Linked DNA regions of Homo sapiens: region 1 is linked to region 2. Evidence: promoter capture Hi-C in human tissues and cell types (Jung and others, 2019). All regions are on one chromosome and are shown on one strand. Each heading gives the region's core, a stretch centred on a gene start or on the middle of the fragment in contact. The rest is flanking DNA. Distances are from core to core; before and after follow the strand shown. Region 1 overlaps LOC105371554 (a long non-coding RNA gene). Region 2 holds the start of CENPV (centromere protein V).

Evidence for each region. The method cuts DNA at HindIII sites, captures the fragments that hold promoters and counts their contacts. A contact is called where the count stands out against the background at its distance.
Region 1: a fragment that was not itself captured here is called in contact with the fragment with the promoter of CENPV in region 2 in 1 of the 25 tissues and cell types used here (psoas muscle).

Annotation. Positions count from the first base shown.
Region 1 is chr17:16,541,499-16,546,345 of GRCh38, forward strand. LOC105371554 (a long non-coding RNA gene) reads left to right here. Exons shown (of 4, transcript XR_007065637.1): 4 at 1-2,588. Among named protein-coding and RNA genes, the nearest start is that of ZNF287, 25 kb to the right of the region's middle. The HindIII fragment of the contact is 3,155 bases long and covers 449-3,603 here.
Region 2 is chr17:16,351,644-16,356,540 of GRCh38, forward strand. It overlaps CENPV (centromere protein V), which reads right to left and starts at 1,826. Exons shown (of 5, transcript NM_181716.3): 1 at 1,384-1,826. The coding sequence starts at 1,793. RefSeq lists silencers at 1,216-1,825, 1,886-2,035. The HindIII fragment of the contact is 38,840 bases long and covers 519-4,897 here.

The DNA of each region.
Region 1 (4,847 bases), core at 776-3,275, 190 kb after region 2:
TCTTTGTATGTCTTTCTGTGTGGTTCTGTTAAAGAAAAGGTATCTTAGGTCAGGATGCAGGCCCAGAAACCCATAAGCCTGCTGTTCAAACCAGCCCAGCAAAGTATCCAGTGGCAAACTTGGCTACAGGCCTCCATCTTGTTTCATGTCATGGGAACATAATCTGTAACCATGTGGCAATACTTTGTTTTTGTCTCCGCCATTTTACAATGGTGGCTGTCTTCTTGTGCTAAATCAGATAAGCCAGTTTGTCAGTCTGGGCTGTGTCAGCTGATCCATCAAGGGCAGGGTTTACAAAACATCTTAAGCACTGATCATAACAGCCGTTTAGGGAGGGTCAAAATCTTGTAGCCTCCAATTGCATGGCTCTTGGGCCATGGTTTCTAATCCTGTAGCTAGTTTCTTGGTCTGGTCCCCAGGCAAAAGGGAAGTATATCTTGAGAAGCAGCTGCTATCTTCTTTGTTTTAGACTATAAACTGTAAACCAAGCTCCTCCCCAACTTGATTCAGCCTATGCCCGGGGATGGGCAAGGACAGTTTGGGGACTGGAAACAAAATGGAGTTGTTTGGGTGAGATCTCTTCCACTGTCTCAGTCACAATTTTGCAGTGACAGTTTCAAAAGCTGCCTGTCCGGGTGGATCACGAGGTCAGGAGTTCAAGACCAGCCTAGTCAACATGACGAAACCCTGTCTCTACTAAAAAAACAAAAATTAGCCAGGCGTGGTGGCATGCACCTGTAGTCCTGGCTACTCAGGAAGCTGAGGCAGAGGAATTGCTTGAACCCAGGAGGCAGAGGTTGCAGTGAGCCAAGATCATGCTACTGCACTCCAGCCTGGGTGACAGAGCAAGACTCTGTCTCAGCAAAAAAAAAAAAAAAAAAAAAAAGCTGCCTGTCACTCCTTTAAAAATACCTTTTACACTCCTGGTTAAGTCATAACCTAATTAAAGCTCTTTAGTTTTACCTGTGAGGTTACTTATTGTAAAGTTCAAAAGCCAAAAATCTTAACTGCTTGGCATGGCTAAGGTCAAGTAACAAAGGATTTAGAAGAATTTTCTTAAAGAGTGCTCAGCTTAATTAAAAGTGGAAAATCAAGTTATAGGTATATTAAAAGGCCTTTATGTTTTTTCTTTTCTTGAATCTTGTTTTTCTGGAAAAAGGCTCATCTCAGCCGACTGAATTATTTTTCTCCATTTTTTGTCTTACTACTCTTAATGCATGTATAAAAGGCCCTAAGATAACTTCTGGTAGCATGGGACTCCTCAGGAAACACAGAGGAGGCGCCACAGACCCCGTTTTGGGAAAAAACCCTCTGTTTTCCTCATGAAACCCCAGGAATTAAAAGCAAATAATTCCCTCTCAAAATCAAAGGCTCTGTTCTGTTTTGCATTGTGTTATCTGATGGTTTTGAGTTTTGGGGGTATCAGAAATTACTTCGCATTTTTACAAGAAAGCTTTGGTGTGTAATAATCAAGTAGAAAATACACTGTAAGGGATGGCTAATAGTAGTTATAAATCAGGGATGCTCTTGGCCACCTGGAAGATAAGGAAACATCCTCACCCTGCACTGGGAGATGAGACTCCCATCAGGGATGGGCTAATTACAAAATAAGCCAATTGGCTTTGGGCTGCCTTGCAATGCAATGCATGGTAGAAGCACTACACCGTCCTCTCCCATAGTATCTATATGGTCTTTTCATAAATTAAGCATTAAAATAAAAGCATAGCAAGGAGGTCTTAAGACACTAATCTGCCCCTTAGTAAAAGGGTTATAAAAGGTTTGTAAAGATTTCACCTTGGCCGGGTGCGGTGGCTCACACCTGTAACCCCAGCACTTTGGGAGGCCGAGGCGGGCAGATCACCTGAGGTCGGGAGTTCGAGACCAGGCTGACAAACATGGAGAAGCCCCGTTTCTACTAAAAATACAAAATTAGCCAGGGGTGGTGGCACATGCCTGTAATCCCAGCTACTTGGGAGGCTGAGGCAGGAGAATCGCTTGAACCTGGGAGGCGGAGGTTGCAGTGAGCTGAGATCATGCCCTTGCACTCTAGCCTGTGCAACAAGAATGAAACTCCATCTCAAAAAAAAAAGAAAAAAAAAGATTTCACCTCATGGTCAAATTGGTTAGGATTTGATGGAATAATCTATAAGGTTTCGTGTAAACAAATTGGGGTTAACATTAATAAACTAATGCAAGGGTAAAATTTTGCTTTGAACAAGATTTTCATTTCATAATAAAGGCTAATGAAAGGATTTTGCCTTTTGAGTCATCATTTTGGCAAAATAATTTATGGCAATCTGGAAATTGTCCTTCCTGATACCTAACTTTTTGAATGGTTTAGAGGGGCCCTGAAACATTCAGAAAAGAGGTAAACAGGATTATTTGACATGTTTAGTCACATGAGATTGCCAAAATGATGTCCAATCTTATTTAAGTTATAGTTTGGTGAATAATACTAATATATGTTTCAGAATTGTATGGGATTTCTAAGATTCTAATGTCTAAGTATATGCTATCAATCATAATTAAGGGTAAAGTTATTGTAAACCATGAAGATAAATAAACTTCTTTGTCAGTCATGTTTTTAACTATCCTGAAAATTTTGTCATTCACAGACAATTGTTGTCCTGCTTTGTTCCTTTTCAAAAAATGGTTTATAATCAAGCTCTATTAAGGAGTTCAACAGGTGTTCTCAAATGCAGGTTTTTAATAGCTTTAAAGATTGTAACATTGGAATAGAGAGAGAATGTATGGGACTCACAAAGAACTAATATGTTCATAAATATCAAGCAAAACAAGAGTTAAGTAAATGGACTGCACTCAGAAAGTTAAAGCAGAGTTTTTAACTTTGCTTGGAATATTGCTGATCCTTGTTTTGTTTTTCAGAGTCAAGAAAAGTTTTAAACTATTTATGGCCTTTAATAATTGAGTAAGGTATACTCCTGTGAACAAAATTTGGAGCATATTTATTTGTCTCTGCCTGGTTCCTCTAGAATTTGGAGACTAGCTGTACTCTTAACTTAACGGCAATATAGCTCTTTGCATCAGTGCAATAAGAATCCATTTTTCTTTGTCAACAGGACACATTGGAAAAACTGGTTATTTTAACCAAGGCTTGAGGGTGTGTTTCCTTTTAAGGAATCAAGCTTGACATGCAGAGCAAATAAAAGCCCCTTGGGGAGAACTGGCCTCATACCTTGTCTGCACAGTCCCTGCACAAGATTCCTAACCTGTGGTCAGTAAAGAGTGTCACTTTCTAATAGGTCTGGGAGCTCCGAGTTTATCTTGGGGCCTCAAGAGGAGAGGATCACCCAACTCACAGGTATTTGAGGATACAAACCCATGGCTGGGCTTGGCTTTAAAAGGTCTTATCTGAGATTCCTTGTAGAACAGTTTCATCGAAGCCAATCCAAAAGGCCTGTGTAGAAATAACCTTTCTTGCTGCACTTTATGCAAACAATCAGGCCATGTATAGGACTAAAGTTTATTCTACAGACAACACACACGGGCCTATCATAATTTGTTTTTATCAAAAATGAGGACTGGAGAGAAAAACTGTGCTCCAAAGCTTATCATACATTTCTCCAAAACTTACTATACATTTCTCATTAAATCCTAGTCTCATCAATTGTTTTTAAGCTTTTTGCCTACATATTATACTAACTCTGCTTATTCCTGTGAATCAAGTGGTAATCCCCTACAGTTTGGAAGAAATAAAAAGGGATGGGTAATGTAAAAATCTGAATCAATATGCTAGTTCTGGGCAATTATCCTGCAAATTCTGCCAGTTAATGAAAGTGAGTATGATGCCCATTAACTCAGGTTTTTTTTTTTTTTTGTTTGGGAAAATAAAACCAAGGCTTCATAGACCACCAAAGGAAAATTCTGTATCTTGGCAAGTAAAATTTTACATGGAAGTTATCTACTACATCACACTTGTGGAAGTTGCTATACTCACTCTGCTATTTGCAAGAGGGTTATACGTGGTAGCACCTTCTAACTGACATATTGGACAGAGTTTCCATTGCTGTTGTATTTTGCTCAATTATTATCCTTATAGCAGGGATAATAGTTACTGACAAAAAGGAAGCATGAAAGTTTTACTATCACTGAGTCTGCTAGCACTTTTTATTGGGTTTAGTAATGATTAACACCTCTAGTAGAGGAAAATCTACAGGTACTTAAGAATGAAATCAAAATTATTAACAGGCTCAGGGAAAATGCCGGCTCCAGCCCTGGATGGCTACAATCCCTCTTTAATGAATTCCAATCTTCTTTATGGAATTGGTCAGCCCCTTTATCAAGCCCTCTCCTGCTTATATGTCTTGTATTGATATTTGGACCCTGTATACTCAGTACCATAACTCGAACTGTTTCTTCTCGCCTCAAAGCAGTCAAACTCCAAATGGTACTGCAAACTGAACCACATATGGACACGCCATTCTCCCGAGGACCCTTAAGTTGACCCTAGGAGGAGCCCTCACTGCTGTTCCCCATTTGACGCCCCTTTTCAGCAGGAAGTAGCCAGAAAGAGTCGTCGCCCAAAACCCCCTAACAGCAGATAGTGTGATATCACCACAGGGAGGAATGTGGTAGGAGTTATTAAGAAATTATTTTAGGCAGAGAGGCAAAGGGGTCCTTGGGAAGTTTTAGTTTTTTAAAGCATCTCCAGAAAAGTTTCTTGTAAAGCCCCGACTCTTACAGTCAGGCCATCAACCTTTGATATGCAAATGCAGGCCATTAGAAACTGGGTCCACCCAACATGTCAATTCCCACAGCCTTCTTGCCCTTGCCCCACATGTTCCTGGCAACATGGCCACCCCCACCTATCCCTACGTGTGTAGAAC
Region 2 (4,897 bases), core at 576-3,075:
GTACAGTTATACACACTTTTTGAATATAATTTAGTAGACTTTATAAGTACAAAGTCATGGCAATCTAGTGGGAGAAAAACAGCTTTTTTATGTCAATATTTTAAAACTTTTTCTTGACCATTTATCAGTTTGTCTTAAAATAAAAATTTATCTCAAATTTGAGTTTTACATTCTTCTTTTTTTCTGTATGCCTTGAAGACACCATGAGTTTTACATTCCTAAGGATCTTCGTATTCCTTCTGCCCAGAGGCAGCCGTCACCCTATAGGTGCTCAAATGTTTGATGGATGAACGTTTTTTAAAAATTCAGTGTGCAGTCCAAGATGAAAAACCAAAAAGTGAAGCACACAGAAAACCAAATATGTATCTTCTGTCGGGGACGACTCATCCTAAGAGAATTTCTTCCGCAAGAAGCTCAAAGGAACATGTTCAAGAAAAGAAGTAATTCTCAGGTTATGCAATTGCTAGGTTATTCTTGTCGGTTTTTTCCCCCTAGTGTTTTGATTGTTCTTTTTAATTCGTAAAATTGACACTGAAATATAATATCAGGGCGTTAAAATATCTCTCTGTAGCACAACTGTTCCCCGAGGCAGGAATCCAGATCGCATTTGGAGAAAAGAAGGCAGCCCTTTAACAGCCCAGTTAAAAGCTCTTTCCCAAATCGCGGACACTCGAGATGCTCCTCGGGCCATCTAAAAGACTGCGGAGCAGCCAGGAGGGCGAGCGGCAGGGAGCATTAGCTGGCTGAGCACATAAAAGCCTCCCTACGTAGGTATCCCCGCCGCCGCGCGAGGCCGGAGCATCTCTTCGCGCGCGCTTCTCTCCCGGATCAATAACCTCCGCCCCCTGCTCCCTCCCTGGCAGTGCCTGGAACAATGACGGGATTTTGCTTCCCAGTGAGTTCAAAACTATTCATGCTTCCTTCAACGCTTCTACCTTTCCCTTCCACCCACCCTCAAAAACACGTGTGCAAACACAAAAAAAAAGGGGATTCGGGTAAGAGAAAGCCGTGGGATTTATGTTCTTTTCACTAAGAAAGGCCCCCACACCCTTTGCGCGCCAGCAAGAGACAACGTCCCCGAGCACGATGCTTATGGCCGGGAAAGACTCTTTGTGTCCCAAGACGGCTGCGCGCGCCCTCAAGCTCCGGACGAAGCCCCCTTTCCATTCCCAGGCCACACAGCCCTAGAAGCACCGCCCCGCCCCGCCGCCCTTAGAATTAAGGAATAACCCCAGTGCTAACGGGGGAGCCGCGTCGGCTCCGTAACGTGGAAGGCTCAGAGCTGAAAGGCGCCCAAGGCCTGCACGCGGGCTGCGAGCCCGACTCCTGCCGAGGGGGTCCGCGTGGCAACGGCTCCCGCGCCCCCCGGCCCGCCGCACTCACAAGGTGTCTAGCAGGAGCTTGGCGGCACCCTCGGAGGTAAGCTTCTGCCGCTTCTGGAACGTCTCCCAGCGCTCCCGCTGCTCGCCCAGGTCCAGGTTGGACGCCGAGGACGTCGGGGTCGCGGGAGTCGGCGGCGGCGGCGGCGGTGGCGGGAGCAACGCCAGCTCAGGCGGCGGCGGCTCCCCCGGGCCCTCCTCCTGGGCCCGCGGCGACGAGCGCCTCAGCCGCGGCTTCTCCGACGGCGGCTTCTCCACCGCCTGGCTCTTGCTCCCGGCCTGGCTAGCGGAGCGCCGTGTGCGGGTGGCGCTGGGTGCCAAGGCAGCGGCCGCGGAGGCCGCGGGGGCCGCGGAGGCCCCGGACCGCTTCTGCCCGCGCAGCTTGGCGGCCGCAGAGCTCCTCGATCGCCGCATGGCTCCCGCAGCCTGGCGCGCAGGCCTCGCAGCGCGGCGCGCCCCCGCCGGCCTGCGCGCGCCCCCGCCGCCCGCCAGTCTTCAGGCCCAGGGGGCGCTGCGCCCGGCTGCCCCGCTCCGCCAGCCGCGCCCCGCAGCGCGGCGCCTGCCCGCAGGAGGGAGACCCGGCCCGCCCGGCCGCTGGGACGCACCTGCCTGTTCAGTCCCGCAGGCAGAGGGGCTGCGCCTGGGCCTACGCTCGCGATACCCAGAATCCACTCGCACCTGCGAAGGCGCCCCTGCCCTGTGTGAATCCAGCGGGCTCTTCGTACCTTCCCGACCTGGAGGGGCCTGGGTTGGGCCTGAATTCGCAGGCTCATCCGAGCGGGCAGCCTGGGGTAACTTCGTCTCCAAAAACGAGCTAATTTGTGTAAACGGCCTGCCACCTGCTACCTCCTGTGTAACAGCGGCCGAAACCATAGTTCTTCACCTTCGTCTTTTCTGTCACATTATAGAACAGTGTCATGAGGATACCAATAGTCAACAGATTTGGGGTTTCATTTTAATTAAATGAATGACCCGCGCGTCGAATTTCATTAGTATGATTTTGATGAAGGCAGCACCAAAGTTTAAAGACAAAAGGCACGAGAATCGTTGATGGAACCCAGATAGTCTTCTTCTCCTTCTCCTTCTTCTTCTTTTTTCAGACCGAGTTTCGCTCTTGTTGCCCAGGCTGGAGTGCAGTGACGCGATCTCGCCTCACCGCAACCTCCGCCTCCCAGGTTCAAGCGATTCTCCTGCCTCAGCCTCCTGAGTAGCTGGGATTACAGGCATTCGCCACCACACCCGGCTAATTTTGTATTTTTAGTAGAGACGGGGTTTCACCATGTTGGTCAGGCTGGTGCCGAATACTCCCGACCTCAGGTGATCCATCCGCCTCGGCCTCCCAAAGCGCTGGGATTACAGGCCTGAGCCACCGGGCCCAGCCTATCTTTCTTTTTTTTTTTTTTTTTTTTTTCTTTTTTGGAGTCTCACTCTGTCGCCAGGCTGGAGTGCAGTGGCGCGATCTCGGTTCACGCAACCTCCGCCTCACCGTTCCAGCGATTCTCCTGCGTCAGCCTATCTTTCTTCTTTATTCTGATTTTCTTCATGGTATTGTTAGTTTAATAGTTTATTGAATTAAAGGCATAGTTTAACTATTTTGTCTTTTTTTTTTTTTTTCCATACAGGATCTGACAGACTGGAGTGCAGTAGCGGGATCTCGGCTCAGTGTAGCCAAGAACTCCTGGCCTCAAGCGATCCTGCCGCCTGGGCCTCTGGAGTAGCTGAGTAGCTGGAACAACAGGCGGCGCCCCCCCCCCCCCCCCCCCGCCCCAGCGAATTGTTGCTATTGTTGTTTTGTAGATACCGGGTTTCCCTATGTTGCCCAGGCTGGTCTCTAACTCCTGGCCTCAAGCGATCCTCCCGCCTAGTTCTCCCCAAGTGTTGGGATTACAGGCGTGAGCCACCGAGCCCCACCTTGCCATTTTGTCGTTGTTGTTGTTGGAATTATGGTTTACACACAGCAACGTGCAAATATCTTAGATGTACAGCTTATGTGACCACCACCACTTCAGATACAGAACATTTTCAGCACACCAGAGTTTCCCTCAGGCAAAAGAAAACAGAGGCGATCACTGTTCTTTTACCACCATAGGTTGGTTTTGCTTATTCTTGAACATCATTTTAAAACGGCACGTAGGCCGGGCGCAGTGGCTCATGCCTAATCCCAACACTATTGGGAGGCCGAGGTGCTCAGATCGCTTGAGCCCAGGAGTTTGAGACCAGGAGGTGGAAGCTGCGGTGAGCTGTGATTACACCACCATATTCTACTCTGGGTGACAGAGTGAGACCTTGTCTCAAAAAAAAAAAAAAAAAAAAAAAGCTGGGTGTGGGGAGTGGTTATCCTTGAGGAGAACTAACTGGGAAAGAGAACAAAGGACTCTTCTAAGATGCTGGATATGGCCAGGCACAGTGGCTCATGCCTGTAATCCCAGCACTTTGGGAGGCGGAGGTGGGCAGGAGTTTGAAACCAGCCTGGCCAACATGGGGAAACCCTGTCTCTACTAGAAATACAAAAACTAGCTGGGCATGCTGGCAGGCACCTGTAATCCCAGCTACTCGGGAGGCTGAGACAGGAGAATCGCTTGAATTCAGGAGGTGGCGGTTGTAGTGAGCCGGAGGTTGCACCATTGCACTCCAACCTGGGCAACAGAGTAAGACTCCGTCTCAAAGAAAAAAAAAGATACTGGATATGTTCTCTACATTATCTTGATCTGGGTGGTAGTTATGGAGGTGTGTAAAACACATAAAAACACTTCAGTGTGTGTAAGACTTAGCTCAATTTAAAAATGAAGAACATGGCTGGGCATGGTGGCTCACGCCTGTAATCCCAGCACTTTGGGAGGCCAAGGTGCCGGATCACCTGAGGTCAAGAGTTTGAGACCAGCCTGACCAACGTGGAGAAACCTCATCTCTAATAAAAATACAAAATTAGCCAGGCGTGGTAGCACATGCCTGTAATCCCAGCTATTCAGGAGGCTGAGGCAGGAGAATCACTTGAACCCGGGAGGTGGAGGTTGCAGTGAGCTGAGATCGGCCATTGCACTCCAGCCTGGGCAACAAGAACAAAACTCTGTATCAAAAAAAAAAAAAAAAAAAAAGAAGAAGAAGAACAACAACATAAGTTAGGCTATTATTTTAAAGACATTATATCATTAAGTAGGTTTGAGGTGAAGAAAATAATTGAATAGTTATTGCAAACCCAAAACTCAAGAACGCAATTAAAAAGGCATGTGCTGGCTGGGCACAGTGGCTCATGCCTGTAATCCCAGCACTTTGGGAGGCCAAGGAGGGCAGATCACTGAGGTCAGGAGTTCGAGACCACCTTGGCCAACATGGTGAAACCCCGTCTCTACTAAAATTACAAAAAATAGCTGGGCATGGTTGTGGGCGCCTGTAATCCCAGCTACTCGGGAGGCTGAGGGAGGAGAATCGCTTGAACCTGGGAAGTGGAGGTTGCAGTGAGATTGCACTCCAGCCTGAAACAAAACTCCATCTCAAAAAAAAAAAAAAAAGAGGCCGGG